Regions from separate parts of the Homo sapiens genome. Here all the other regions are linked to region 1. Evidence: promoter capture Hi-C in human tissues and cell types (Jung and others, 2019). All regions are on one chromosome and are shown on one strand. Each heading gives the region's core, a stretch centred on a gene start or on the middle of the fragment in contact. The rest is flanking DNA. Distances are from core to core; before and after follow the strand shown.

Region 1 (4,328 bases), core at 1,223-3,722:
GACAGGTGGATCACTTGAGGTCAGGAGTTCAAGAACAGCCTGGCCAATAATGGTGAAACCCCATCTCTACTAAAAATACAAAAATTAGCCGAGAGTGGTGGCACACAGGGGGCAGAGGTTGCAGTGAGCCGAGATCGTGCCACTGCACTCCAGCCTGGGCAACAGAGCGAGACTCTGTCTCAAAAAAAAAAAAAAAAAGAGTTCACAGACATAATTTTCACAGTTATAGTAGATTAAATACCTATTAGTGCCAAGAGTTTTAAGAATATGATCTCAGTCCATTCTCATGAGGTCATTCTTACAGCCACATTTTCAGATGAGCTAACAAAGGCACACAGCATTTAGATAAGCTGCTCAAGGTCTCCTGGGCAGAAAGGGACAGAACCAGGATTCACACTGAGGTCACTCCTTCCACCATGCAGCAATGTCTCTACTGAGCTGAACGGTGCCTAGAGATGATCTAGTGTAATCCCCAAACAATCCTACCATTTAGAGACCTGCAGGGAGGTTAAAGGACAGTTCTGACGTCCTTCAGCTAACAGCACACCAGGAGTGGATCCCGCATTTCCTGTTCTCCAGGCAAGCATGTTCTATAATCATTCTGACTCACACCAGATACCCTATTTTTGAGAGATATTAAAATATTCCCATAACTAAATTCAAAACAGACAAAACAAGAATGAGGCAAATGCCTGTGCCTGTGCACTGAGATCCGCCTGAATTATCCTTTGGTGGGAGATAGGAAAAGAGATGTCTCAAATATATCCTGTGTACTACTTGCAATCAGCTAACAGAAGACAACAGGATTTCATGCATTCCTTTTGACTACCATCATTTTTTCAACCTCCTGCCTTTCAGTAGGGCAGTTAAAGCATTAAACAGGAGCCAGCAAGCTTTCTCTGTAAAGGGCTTAACATTTCTGGCCTAGCAGGCCATAAGGTCTCTGATGCAACTGTTCAATTCTACCGTTGTAGGGAGAAAGCAGCCACAGACCATATACAAACGAATGAGCATGGCTGTGTTCCAGTGAGGTTTACAGACAGAAATTTGAATTTCATATAATTTTCACATGTCACAAAATATTACTACTCTTTTGATGTTTTTCAGCTATAGTACTTAGAAAGGTATGTCTTATGGGCTACACAAAAACAGGTCGTGGGCCACAGAGTCTGGTGATCCTGCATTAAACCAAAGAAGTATTAACGCTACCGGTCAGAAGAGAGCAGAGGACAAGCAGGGAGTAGGGGGCCTCTCCCTTGTCCATCTGGTGCCACTGGTTCAGGAAGCCTTCTTGGGCCACCCCCACTCCCACTCAGCTCAGGCATCCCACTTCTGTGTTTTCCCTGACACTTGTGCCTACCTTTATCTTAGCACTTACTATAACATGTTGTGGTTGATTATTCAATTGTCTATATCTCCCCAGTCACAAGGGCAAGCAATGTTTTTTAGTTTCTGTATTCCTAGCTGACACAGATGCTCAAAAAAATATTTGGGAAGGGAGAGAAGGAAATAACGAGAAAATAAGCTCAGAATATCTTTTTTTCTTTTTCTTTCTTTTTTTTTTTTTTTTTTTTTTTGTAGACATGGGGTTTCGCCATGTTGCCTAAGCCCAGGCTGGTCTTAAACTCCTGAGCTCAGGTGATTGGTCCACTTCAGCCTCCCAAAGTGCTGGGATTACAGGCGTGAGCTACCACGCCTGGCCTAGAAAATATCCTTTTTATTTATTTATATTTTAGAGACAAGATCTCACTCTGTCACTCAGGCTGGAGTACAGTGGCACAATCATGGCTCACTGCAGCCTTGACTTCCCAGGCTCAAGTGATCCTCCCACCTCAGCCTCCCAAGGAGCTGGGACTACCAGTGCACACAACCACATCTGGCTGATATTTTCATTTTTTGCAGAGACAAGGTCTCCTTATGTTGCCTAGGGTGGTCTTGAGCTCCTGGGCTCAAGCAATCCTACTGCCTCAGCCTCCCAAAGTGCCCGGATTATAGGCATGAGCCACAGCGCCCGGCCCCTGGCTGGAAATTCTTATCTTTATACAGACACTAGGTAGCAGCTCAAGGTCTTGATAGTGGCTCAATGGCATACACATAACAGGTTAAATCAGTGGTTCACCTGTGTGTAGCATCTGTTAACCATCTATGCTGTTTATGTTCCATAAATATGCACCAACCCCTTAGTCTATTCTCTTTACTTATACCTACCTCAAAGCCAGGCATCTGATTACTTGTTTAGACTAACGTAGATGAATAATCCAAACATACGTTTAAAATGACCCCCACATGTGCCAAAAAGGCTTCAGGGTACCCTGGGGTTCTACAGAACACAAATGGAAAAAACATCCTACAAACACTAGTCTCAAAAGTGAATGACAGCTTCAAATAATTTAAAGCCACAATTACCAGATATAATAGGGAGATATGTGGAAAGTCTACCGCATCATTATCACATAAAGCATCAAAGAGGAAACAAACATCTTTTTTTTTTCTTTTTTTTTGAGATGGCATTTCACTCTTGTTGCCCAGGCTGGAGTGCAATGGCGCAATCTCGGCTCACTGCAACCTCACCTCCTGGGTTCAAGCAATTCTCCTGCCTCAGCCTCCCAAGTAGCTGGAATTACAGGCATGCGCCACTATGCCCAGCTAATTTTGTATTTTTAGTAGAGATGGGGTTTCTCCATGTTGGTCAGGCTGGTCGCGAACTCCCGACCTCAGGTGATCCGCCTGCCTCGGCCTCCCAAAGTGCTGGGATTACAGGCATGGGCCACCACGCCCGGCCATAACAAACATCTTTTAATCACATGTTGAGGGCTGGTCTTGTAACTCTAATGAGGGGTCCTTAACCTTTTCTTTTTCTTTCTTTTCTCTCTTTTTTTTTTTTTTGAGATGGAGTTTTCCTCTTATTGCCCAGTCTAGAGTGCAGTGGTGCGATCTCGGCTCACTGCAACCTCTCCTCCTGGGTTCAAGCGATTCTCTTGACTCAGCCTCCTGAGTAGCTGGGATTACAGGTGCCCGCCACCATGCCCAGCTAATGTTTGTATTTTTAGGAGAGACACGATTTCACCATGTTGGCTAGGCTGGCTTCAAACTCCTGACCTCAAGTGATCTATCCACCTAGGCCTCCCAAAGTGCTGGGATTACAGGTGTGAACCACTGCGCCCAGCCTCCTTAACCCTTTCAATGCCAGGGTCCCTTTGGCAGTCTGGAGAAGTCAGAGGACCCCTTCTCAGAGCAATGCTTTAATGCATAATACACATCGTTTTTAAAAGGAAACAATTTATAATAATAAAGCCACAGTACTACTCCTGACACTTCCTGTCTTCTTCCCCTGCTTAGTTTTTTCTACCCAGCATTTGTCCCTACTGAATTCACTATATACTGCCCTTTATTTGTGTTATCTTATTTAGTATATGTCTCCCCAACTAGAATCTGAGTTGTTTTTTTTTTTGTTTTTGAGATGGAGTCTCACTTGGTCACCCAGGCTGGAGTGCAGTTGCACGATCTTAGCTCACTGCAAACTCCACCTCCCAGGCTCAAGTGATCCTCTCACCCCAGTCTTATGAGTAGCTGGGACCACAGACACACACCACCACGCCTGGCTAATATCTTGTATTTTTGGTAGAGATGTGATTTCAACATGTTGCCCAGGCTGGTCTTGAACTCCTGAGCTCAAGTAATCCACCTGCCTCAGCCAAAGTGCTGGGATTACAGGCGTGAGCCACTGTGCCCAGCTAGAATCTAAGTTCTATGAAGGCAGAGATGTTCATCTATTTTGTTCACCACTCTATTTCCAAAAAGCTAGAAAACTGCCTGGTATAGAATAGTTGCTCGTAAGCATTTGTGGGATTATTAAATGAACTTTATGTCTCATAAGAGCTGTTTTCTAGCATTAATCAAAGGCAGTTCTTCTAGGTTCTCACAACCTTAGGAAAGATAATATGTAATACTTCGTATTTACAAACAGCTTTTGGTGAGCACTGGAACCCTTTTGTAGACAGTCTCATTCAACCACAGTAGACCTAATATCTAACGACTGAGGGCAAAGAAGGGATGTGAGATGAGCAGTCAAATGCTTTCAGGCCAGAGAACAAAATAGATGACCCAGGCCCCTGCTTATTCGCTCTGCCCTTTGCCCCTGGAGCTTTAGCTGCTTTGCTTAGAGGACAGTCTCTCCCTCACTGAAGATACCTAATTGCACATTAGCAATAGGAAGGTTTCACTGGACCCAACCAGACTCATTCATAACAAATAGCGACACATTCCTTTGCAACAAGGTTCTAGGATTTCCAACTTCTTGCCAAGGCAATTCTTAAATAGAGGAAATG
Region 2 (4,328 bases), core at 1,312-3,811, 400 kb after region 1:
TCCAACCCCTTGTCTGTTTCTGCAAAGATTTACTGGAACACAACAACGCTCATTCATTTATGTATTGTCTATGACTGCTTTCATGCTATAACGGTGAAGTTGAGTAGCTGCGACAGAAGCCATAAAGTCCACAAAACCTAAAATATTTACTATTTGACCCCTTACAGAAAAAGTTTGCCAACCCCTGCTATAGATTAAAAAGAAAATCAGTTAGAAAATAAAATGAAAAAAATAAAAGCCCCAATTTTGGTTTTTAGAGAAAGGGTCTCCCTCCGTAACCCAGGCTGGTGTGCAGTGGTGCAATCGTGACTCGAACGGCAGCCTCAAACTCCTTGGCTTAAGTGATCTTCCCACCTTAGCTTCTTGAGTAGCTGGGACTACAGGCACATGCCACTGTGCCCCACTCATGTTTAAAAAAATTTTTTTCTTTGTAGGAACGGAGTCTTGCTATGTTTCCCAGGCCGGTCTCAAACTCCTGGCTTCAAGCAATCCTCCCCCATCTTGGCCTCCTAAAGCACTGGAATTACAGGTGTGAATCATCATGCCCAGCCCCTCAGTTCTTAATAGAAACAATTATTAATATAAGCTAAGAAGAAATAAACTTTACAATATGTATTAATAGCTATTATATATGAACAAAACCTCACAACTGTACAGATATCCAAGGAGATGTGAATAAATTGAATTATGTCTTTCCTGATAGAAAACTAAAGCAAGCCTTTTTCTAAATTAATCTGCCACTCTAGTGAAAGAGCACCAGGAATACATCTGCAGTTGAACAAATTGGGTATATTACTCCTGCACTCTGGGGAATTTCAATAAGAGGGTGCTAGAAAGGACTTATAGGAGGATTTGTGCCCATGTTCAGTGATTTCAGTCAGGGTTTAGGGAAGCCAGGCTTCTCTCTGGCTTGGATGCTGTCAGAGGTGGGGGTATGTCTATGACGGACTATCTTAATGAGTCTTGCCCAGAAGGAGAGAAGATTAGTTGGAGGCTAATGCTGTAATTGGTAAGGAAACAACAGTCACTCTCTTATGGGAGAAAGAGGGATGTTTCATGCCTTTTGTGGTTTGGACAGTGTTCACCTTTGCCAGCATTCAGATGTGACGATGGAGTGGTTCTGTTTCTGTCTTGCTCCCTCACGGTCACAGAGTGACCTTGTCCGATGCTGATGTTCTCTGAAATTGTTTATATTCAACAGAATACCAAGGCCAGCTCCCAGATGTGCAGGGATGTATAAATTAAACGCAATTTAAATCTAAATTTCCAGTTTTGTGTTTGTTTTATGTGAGAACTTGAAAAAATATATCTAAGTTGGGTGTCTGAACAAATAAACATTAGAGAAGAGCTGAGAAACCAAAGAGAGAAAATTGTGAAATCTAAAAGACTGAAAAGTGTTGATAAATTTGACTACAAAAAATTAGTCTTTGTCCTGGGTGCAGTGGCTCACGCCTGTAATTCCAGCGTGATTTGGGAGGCCAAGGTGGGCAGATCACTTGAGTCCAGGAGTTCAAGACCAGCCTGGGCAACATGGCAAAACTCCACCTCTACCAAAAATACAAAAATTAGCTGCGTGGTGGCGCAGGCCTGTGGTTCCAGCTACACAGGAAGCTGAGGATGGGGGATGGATTAAGCCTGGGAGGTCGAGGCTGCAGTGAGCCAATCAAACCACTGCACTCCAGCCTAGGCGAGTGAGACCTTGTCTAAAAGACCAAACAACCACAAAAATAAGTCCTTGTCCAGCAAAAATCACCTTTACACAGGTTTGCAAGACAGACCACAGATAAAACATTTTCAATGCATTTAAGAAAAGGGTTGATGTCCCTAATAAACTAAAAATGAATAACCTACCTACTAATCAATATAAAAAGAGTACTTTTCAGAATCGTTTTAGATTTTTACAACGACATGTGCCATTAAAAACAATAAAAGAAAAAAACCCGGCTGGGGGCGGTGTCTCACGCCTGTAATCCAAGTACTTCAGAAGGCCGAGGCTGGAGGATCGCCTGAGGTCAGGAGTTCGAGACCAGCCTGGCCAACATGGCGAAACCCAGTCTCTACTAAAAATACAAAAATTAGGTGGGCATGGTGGTGTGCGCCTGTAATCCCAGCTACTCCGGAGGCTGAGGCAGGAGAATCGCTTGAACCCGGGAGGCGGAGGTTGCAGTGAGCTGAGACCGTGCCTGGCACTCCAGCCTGGGCGACAAAACGAGACTCTGTCAAAAAAAAATAATAATAAATAAGAAAAAGAAAGAAAGAGGGAAGGACGGGAAGGAAGGGAAGGGAAGGGGGGAAGGAAGGGAGGCAGGGAGGAGGGGGAGGGGGGAGGGGGAAGGAGGGGGGAGGGGGAAGGAGAGGGGGAGAGGGGAGGGAGGAAAGAGGGGAGGGGGGAAGGAAGGAAGGAAAAAAACAAAACACAACTGGAAAACCCTAGGACTTGAACCCAGGGAAAGCGTTAGGGGGTAAGGGGACTACACTTCCCGTGAAGCTCCGCGGCGGCTTCCCGTGAGGCCCCGCGGAGGCTTCCTGAGAGGTCCTGCGCGCTTTCCGCGCCAGCTTCAGTGTCAGCTCGCGAGCCCTGGCGTCGCGTAGGAGGGAGGATGGAGAGCGGCGACGAAGCGGCCATCGAGAGGCACCGCGTCCACTTGCGCTCCGCCACATTGCGCGACGCCGTACCCGCCACACTGCATCTGCTGCCCTGCGAGGTTGCGGTGGACGGGCCCGCCCCGGTGGGGCGCTTCTTCACGCCCGCCATCCGCCAGGGCCCCGAGGGTGAGCCCTGCGGCCGGACTACGGCTCCCGGCAGCCCCCGCGCCGGCCTGCGCGCTTCTCATCGCCTGGGCTCCTGGGGATCGTGGTCCGTCCGGAGGTGGCGGGAGGGCAGCTCCGGGCTCGACCCAGCGTGGGTCCTGCCTGAGGCCCTTTGCGCCTCCCGCTCCAGGACTCGAAGTGTCGTTTCGGGGCCGCTGTCTACGGGGAGAGGAGGTGGCGGTGCCGCCTGGCCTCGTGGGATACGTGATGGTGACAGAAGAGAAGAAGGTGTCGATGGGGAAGCCAGACCCCTTGCGGGATTCCGGGACTGACGACCAAGAGGAGGAGCCGCTGGAGCGGGACTTCGTGAGCAAAGGGATAGGGTTGAAAGGGGGTGCGGGCGGGAGCTGTAGTCCCGATGCTGAGCCAGGCCCCTTCCCCAGGACCGCTTCATTGGAGCCACTGCCAACTTCAGCCGCTTCACCCTGTGGGGTCTGGAGACCATCCCTGGCCCGGATGCCAAAGTGCGTGGGGCCTTAACTTGGCCCAGCCTTGCGGCAGCGGTGAGTAGACGAGGAGTTCCGTCTTGCCCCCGGGTGGATGGGCTGGGGAGCACAATTGCGCAGACGGAGCCTGGAGGATTCTACTGGGTAGTGTGTGGGAAGCGTAGCTCCCTGACCACTCTTCCTAGCATGTCTAGAAGCGGTTATTCTGAACAGCTGGGTCCTTCCTCGGGTATGGGGGCCAGCTTGCCGCCCTGTCTTACAAGTCCAACAGTAGAGGCGACTCCTGTTGCAGATTCACGCACAGGTGCCCGAGGACTGAGAACCAGAGCTTGAAATTCAAAGCTGCGATCCCTTCACAGCAGTAAACCAGCTCTTTGGAACCGATTCCATCACCCCAATAAAGGAGCTCTTCACAGCACCTGTGAGTCTGGGCGCCTTAGAGCCCCTAAGCCAGCATGGGCCCTTTCCCCCTCCCCACCAAGAACTTTGCATGGCTCTGGCATATAGAAACAATTTATTGCCGGGGGCAATAGGGGTAAGAGAAGCCAGAAATTTTTGCAGCCAGCACCCACCCCACCCCCAACTTCTACTTTACAAAAGAAATTTTTACAATCACCAGCCCTCTGTACAGAGCTCCCCCATCCGGATCCCTTCTCACTGTACACAGCTGCCTGGCTCCCTCTGGTCCCTGCTTCAGAGGAGGCCTGGGCCTGTGGCCAGCTGACCTTGGAGTTGGTCTGAGCCCGGAGCTCGCCTTGGTGCTGGGCACCAGTGGGCCCCTGCCAGGCCTGTCCTCTCCTTTTTGAGCTGTCCTCAGCCCCATCTCCCTTAGAGTGCTTTGTGGGAGCTGCAGTGGGGGCGGGGTGGGCTATCAGCCCCAGTCCTGCTGCCGTCTTGGCACTGCAGTGGGCAGTGTCTGGTCACCACTTCCCCCTCTTGCTCCAGTCCTTGGGAGTGAAGTGCAGACACTTGGAGTCGATCCGCAGGAGCCGCTTGAGCATGGCCCGCTCATGGCCATCCACGATGTCCTCTGACAGTGTGAGGATGTACTGGCCCTGGGCAGAGGAGATG
Region 3 (4,328 bases), core at 1,284-3,783, 280 kb after region 1:
CTTGGCTCACTGCAACCTTTGCCTCCTGGGTTCAAGCTATTCTCCTGTCTCAGTCTCCCAAGTAGTTGGGATTACAGGTGCGCACCACCACGTCTGGCCAATTTTTTGTATTTTTAGTAGAGATGGGGTTTCACCATGTTGGCCAGGCTAGTCTTGAATTCCTGACCTCAAGTGATTTGCCTGCTTTGGCCTCCCAGAGTGCTGCGATTACAGGCTTGAGCCACCACGCCTGGCCAGTATTTTATATTATTTCATTTTCTCCTCTATTATATTTTTGCTTATATATTCTTTTAATGTCTCTATATTTAAAGGAAGATCTTAGAGAAGGCAACACCTAACCTAGAGGATAAGTACTGGTAGTGAACTTTCAGAGTATGGCTCCTGCAAAGGCTGGGGGGTGCATCCATCTGTTCAATAGCTCAGCACATCCTCAGAACATACAGCAAAAATAATATAACAATAATAATAATATAATAGCTAACCCTTATGTTGGCCCTTACAATATGCTAGGCACCACTCTAACCATTTCATGTATATGCCCTAAGCATTTTATATATGTTAACTCCTTTAACCATGAAGATGAACATACATAGATAAACATTGAAGCAGACCATTCTGTTCCATGCTTTGTGTCTCTCAGCCCCTCTTGCCCCTCTAAACCACTTGAACCCCGCTCCTCATTTCTTGGCTTCTCTGACACTCCCAAGGCAGGCTCTCCCCTTGCCCCAGACCCCAAACACATGCAGTCTGGCTAACTGGTGCAGCAGGTCCCCTAGTCCCCAGCCTCTTTCCTCCTGCCTTAGTATCTCTACTCTGACCTACACTGCTTGGTAGCTGCTTGAGGGAGATGGGCCTCAAAGGTGGACCACAGCTGCTCCATCCTCATCCTCAGCCACGGCCCACTATGCATATGCCTCCATCTCCCAAAAGGGTGCACCTCTCCATGCTCTAACCATCCTTGGCACAACGTGGATGCTCGACAACTCTTTGCTGAAGGAAGTCAAAAGGAAGAAATGGTCTTATCATTACATGAACTCAGAACACAAGTGAAGCCATTAGGGCTGAACAGGATTCTCTCGCCTTGGGAAAGGAGAAGAGGATGCCAGCCTCTGCTCAATCCCTAACATCCTGCCCTCCTCCCCGCCCTCACCTCCCACCCCCTACCCACCTACCCCCATCAAGACAGCCTGAGTTGGTCTTGGGGAGGGTAAGAGTGACAGTGACGGGTCCCTTTCCATCTGTAAGGACAAAGGCAAAACCCTGCCTCCCTTGGCATCCTCATCAGTCCGCACACAGGTGCCACAGAGGCTCCCCACTCCCTTGCTCAAGTCTCCTTTCTCTCACTTGCGCAGACACACACATACACACAGAGACACATGGGCACATACACACACACAGACACACGAGACAAACACAGACACACGCACACACAGACACACATAGAAACACACACAGATACACAGACACACACAAACACACAGGCACAGAGAAACACACACACAGACACACACAACGACATACACAGATCATACACAGGCACACAGACACACACAGATGCACACACAGACACACTGACATAGACACACACAGATATACAAAGACACACGGATACAGACACACACAGACACATGCAAACACACACACAGACCCAGAAATACACAGACACACACACACAGACACACGCAGACCATACACACACACAGAGACACACACACACAGACATAAAGATGCACGCAGACCATACATAGACACAGAGACAGACACACACTCAGACACAAAGAGACACAGACCTGCGCAGACACACACAGGCACATGCGTGCACACACAGATACACACAGAGACACACACAGATGCATACATGCACACATGCAGACCATACACACAGACAGACACAGACACAAAGACACACGCAGACCATACACAGACACAGACACACAGACACACACACACAGACATGCACAGACACACACAGAGACAGACACAGACATGCACGCACAAACACCCACATGGACGCATACGTGCACACACACAGACACACACAGGCCATACACACACACACAGAGACACGGAGACACACAGACACACACACAGATACACAGAGACACACAAAGACACAGACACACACTGAGACACACACAGACACACAGACACACAGAGACACAAATACAGACATACACAGATACACACACACACAGACATATGCAGGCACATCGACATACACACAGACACACAGAGAAACAGACACATGCAGACTATACACACACAGACACACACAGAAACACACAGAGGCAGACCACACACACACAGACACACACACACCACCGCATGATTGGGCATCACGGGCTTTCATGGAGTGAGGGGAGGCTGGGGTGGGGGTCTTCATCCTTTCTCTACCTTGCCCTCCTTCCCAACCTCCGCATACGTCTCCATCGCTCTCCTGGGCTTCAGCGTCCGGCCACTGCCCGCGTGCTCCCGCAGGTCGTCCCCGTAACTCGCCCGAGGAACTGACCGAGTGAGGATGCTCTCAGCTGACGGGGACGCTCTCCCCCGCCCGGCCAAGGAGTCGCCTGGAGTCGGGGGCGGTTCCCACCGCGTTTCCCTCAGCCACGCCTTTCGATTGGGTAGCGGGGCACCGCGCGTGACGCCATTGGCTGCATTGTCTGTCGTTCCTGTCCCAGGCCCCAGCTTTTAAGGGACACGCGGCACGGAGAGTGGGCCGGTGATAGGCGACAGTGTGGGAGCTGGGGTCAGAGTTCATAGGGTCGCAGAGGCCGCGTGCCGCGTCTCCCTCCAGTCCCCGGGGGACTGACCCCCACAACAACCCCGTGCCGCCGTTCCGGGCCCCTCCTTCCAACGGCCACGTGCGGCCTGCGCGTGCGCACTCGCCCAGTTTGGCGCCCACCAGGCAGTGGGGAAGGGGAAGGGGAAGGGGAAGAGGGTGAGGGTGGCAGGGTGGGGACAGGGAATGGGAAGCAGTGGTGGGGATGTGGGTGGTGGACCAGGGGCGAGGGCAGGGGACAATGTCTGTGGAGAAGGGGGGTCTGTTTAGGTTTCCGCTCTTGGACGGGAGGGAGCGGCGGGGTAAGCAGCCTAGGAGGACTAGGGAGCTCCACAAGTCCCGCGGCCAGGGCGCCCCAAGCGAGGCCGGGGTCCGCGAACGGTCGCCACTGGAGCGGGGCTGCAAGGGGGTGCCGATGCTGCGAGAGAAAACCTGGGGACCTTGGAACGGGCTCATGGTAATTGGGAAGAGAGTGGAGCTCCTGACTAGAAACACTCGAAAGCCGAAGCTGGAGTCTGAGTACTGGAGACTGGAAGATGTGGAAAAGACGGTCTTGAAAGGGAAGTCAGGCCCGAGTCAGGAAAGGATGGATGTGAAGCTGCTATACCGTGGAGCAAGTGCATCACAAGCTTCAGCAGATTTGGGGAAAGACAGCCCAAGGGGTATTTGGGGAAAGCAAGAGGTCAAACACGAAATAAAGGCTAAATCTAAGAGTGCAGGGATGACAGCAGGGCCTATGAAGGGGTCTGGGTTTGAAGAGAGGTTGAGGTCTGCTGGGGAGAAGGTAGGGACCAGTGGAGAGGACTTGAGATCCAATGGATATAAACTGGGACAGGATGAGAAGGGGTTGAGGTCTAGTGTAGACAAGATGAGATCAAGTGTAGAGAAGCTGAGGTCTACTAGTGAGAAGCTGGTGTGCAGGGGAGAGAAGCAGGGGTCCAGTGGAGTGAAGCTGAGGTCCAGTGGCAGAAAGCTGAGATCAAGTGGAGAGAATTTGAGATCAAGTAGAGAGAAGCTGAGATGGAGTGGAGAGAAGCTGGGAACTAGTGGAGAGAAGCTGGGAACCAGTGATGAGAAGCTGAGGTTGAGTGGAGAGATGCTGAGATCAATCAGAGAGAAGCTGAGGTTGAGTGGAGAGAAGCTGGGAACCAGTGATGAGAAGCTGAGGTTGAGTGGAGAGAAGCTGAGGTTGAGTGGAGAGAAGCTGAGATCAAGCAGAGAGAAGCTGAGGTTGAGTGGAGAGAAGCTGGGAACCAGTGATGAGAAGCTGAGGTTGAGTGGAGAGAAGCTAAGATCAAGCAGAGAGAAGCTGAGGTTGAGTGGAGAGAAGCTAAGATCAAGCAGAGAGAAGCTGAGATTGAGTGGAGAGAAGCTGGGAACAAGTGATGAGAAGCTGAGGTTGAGTGGAGAGAAGCTGAGATCAAGCAGAGAGAAGCTGGGAACCAGTGGAGAGAAGCTGAGATCAAGCAGAGAGAAGCTGAGGTTGAGTGGAGAGAAGCTGGGGTCAAGTGCGGAGAAGCTGAGATCTAGTGAGGAGAAGTTAGGGACC

Evidence for each region. Contacts are between HindIII fragments. The study calls those that stand out against the background at their distance.
Region 2: the fragment with the promoter of RNASEH2C here is called in contact with a fragment that was not itself captured in region 1 in 1 of the 25 tissues and cell types used here (mesenchymal stem cells).
Region 3: a contact is called between the fragment with the promoter of SNX32 here and a fragment that was not itself captured in region 1, in 5 of the 25 tissues and cell types used here (IMR-90 fibroblasts, adrenal gland, dorsolateral prefrontal cortex and 2 more).

What each region holds. Positions count from the first base shown.
Region 1 is chr11:66,116,019-66,120,346 of GRCh38, reverse strand. The region is part of intron 1 of PACS1 (phosphofurin acidic cluster sorting protein 1); the gene reads right to left. Among named protein-coding and RNA genes, the nearest start is that of PACS1, 48 kb to the right of the region's middle. The HindIII fragment of the contact is 5,164 bases long and covers 1-4,328 here.
Region 2 is chr11:65,719,031-65,723,358 of GRCh38, reverse strand. RNASEH2C (ribonuclease H2 subunit C) reads left to right here and starts at 2,561. Exons shown (of 4, transcript NM_032193.4): 1 at 2,561-2,772; 2 at 2,942-3,117; 3 at 3,195-3,314; 4 at 3,550-4,328. The coding sequence starts at 2,601. The coding sequence ends at 3,576. KAT5 (lysine acetyltransferase 5) reads right to left here. Exons shown (of 13, transcript NM_182710.3): 13 at 3,755-4,312. The coding sequence ends at 4,178. RefSeq lists an enhancer at 2,416-2,485 and a silencer at 2,636-2,875. The HindIII fragment of the contact is 7,035 bases long and covers 1-4,328 here.
Region 3 is chr11:65,832,168-65,836,495 of GRCh38, reverse strand. It overlaps SNX32 (sorting nexin 32), which reads right to left and starts at 2,533. Exons shown (of 13, transcript NM_152760.3): 1 at 2,395-2,533. The coding sequence starts at 2,430. It overlaps LOC124902693, which reads left to right and starts at 2,697. Exons shown (of 7, transcript XM_047427980.1): 1 at 2,697-4,328. The coding sequence starts at 2,985. RefSeq lists an enhancer at 2,452-2,541 and silencers at 2,466-2,678, 2,852-2,981. The HindIII fragment of the contact is 13,089 bases long and covers 1-4,328 here.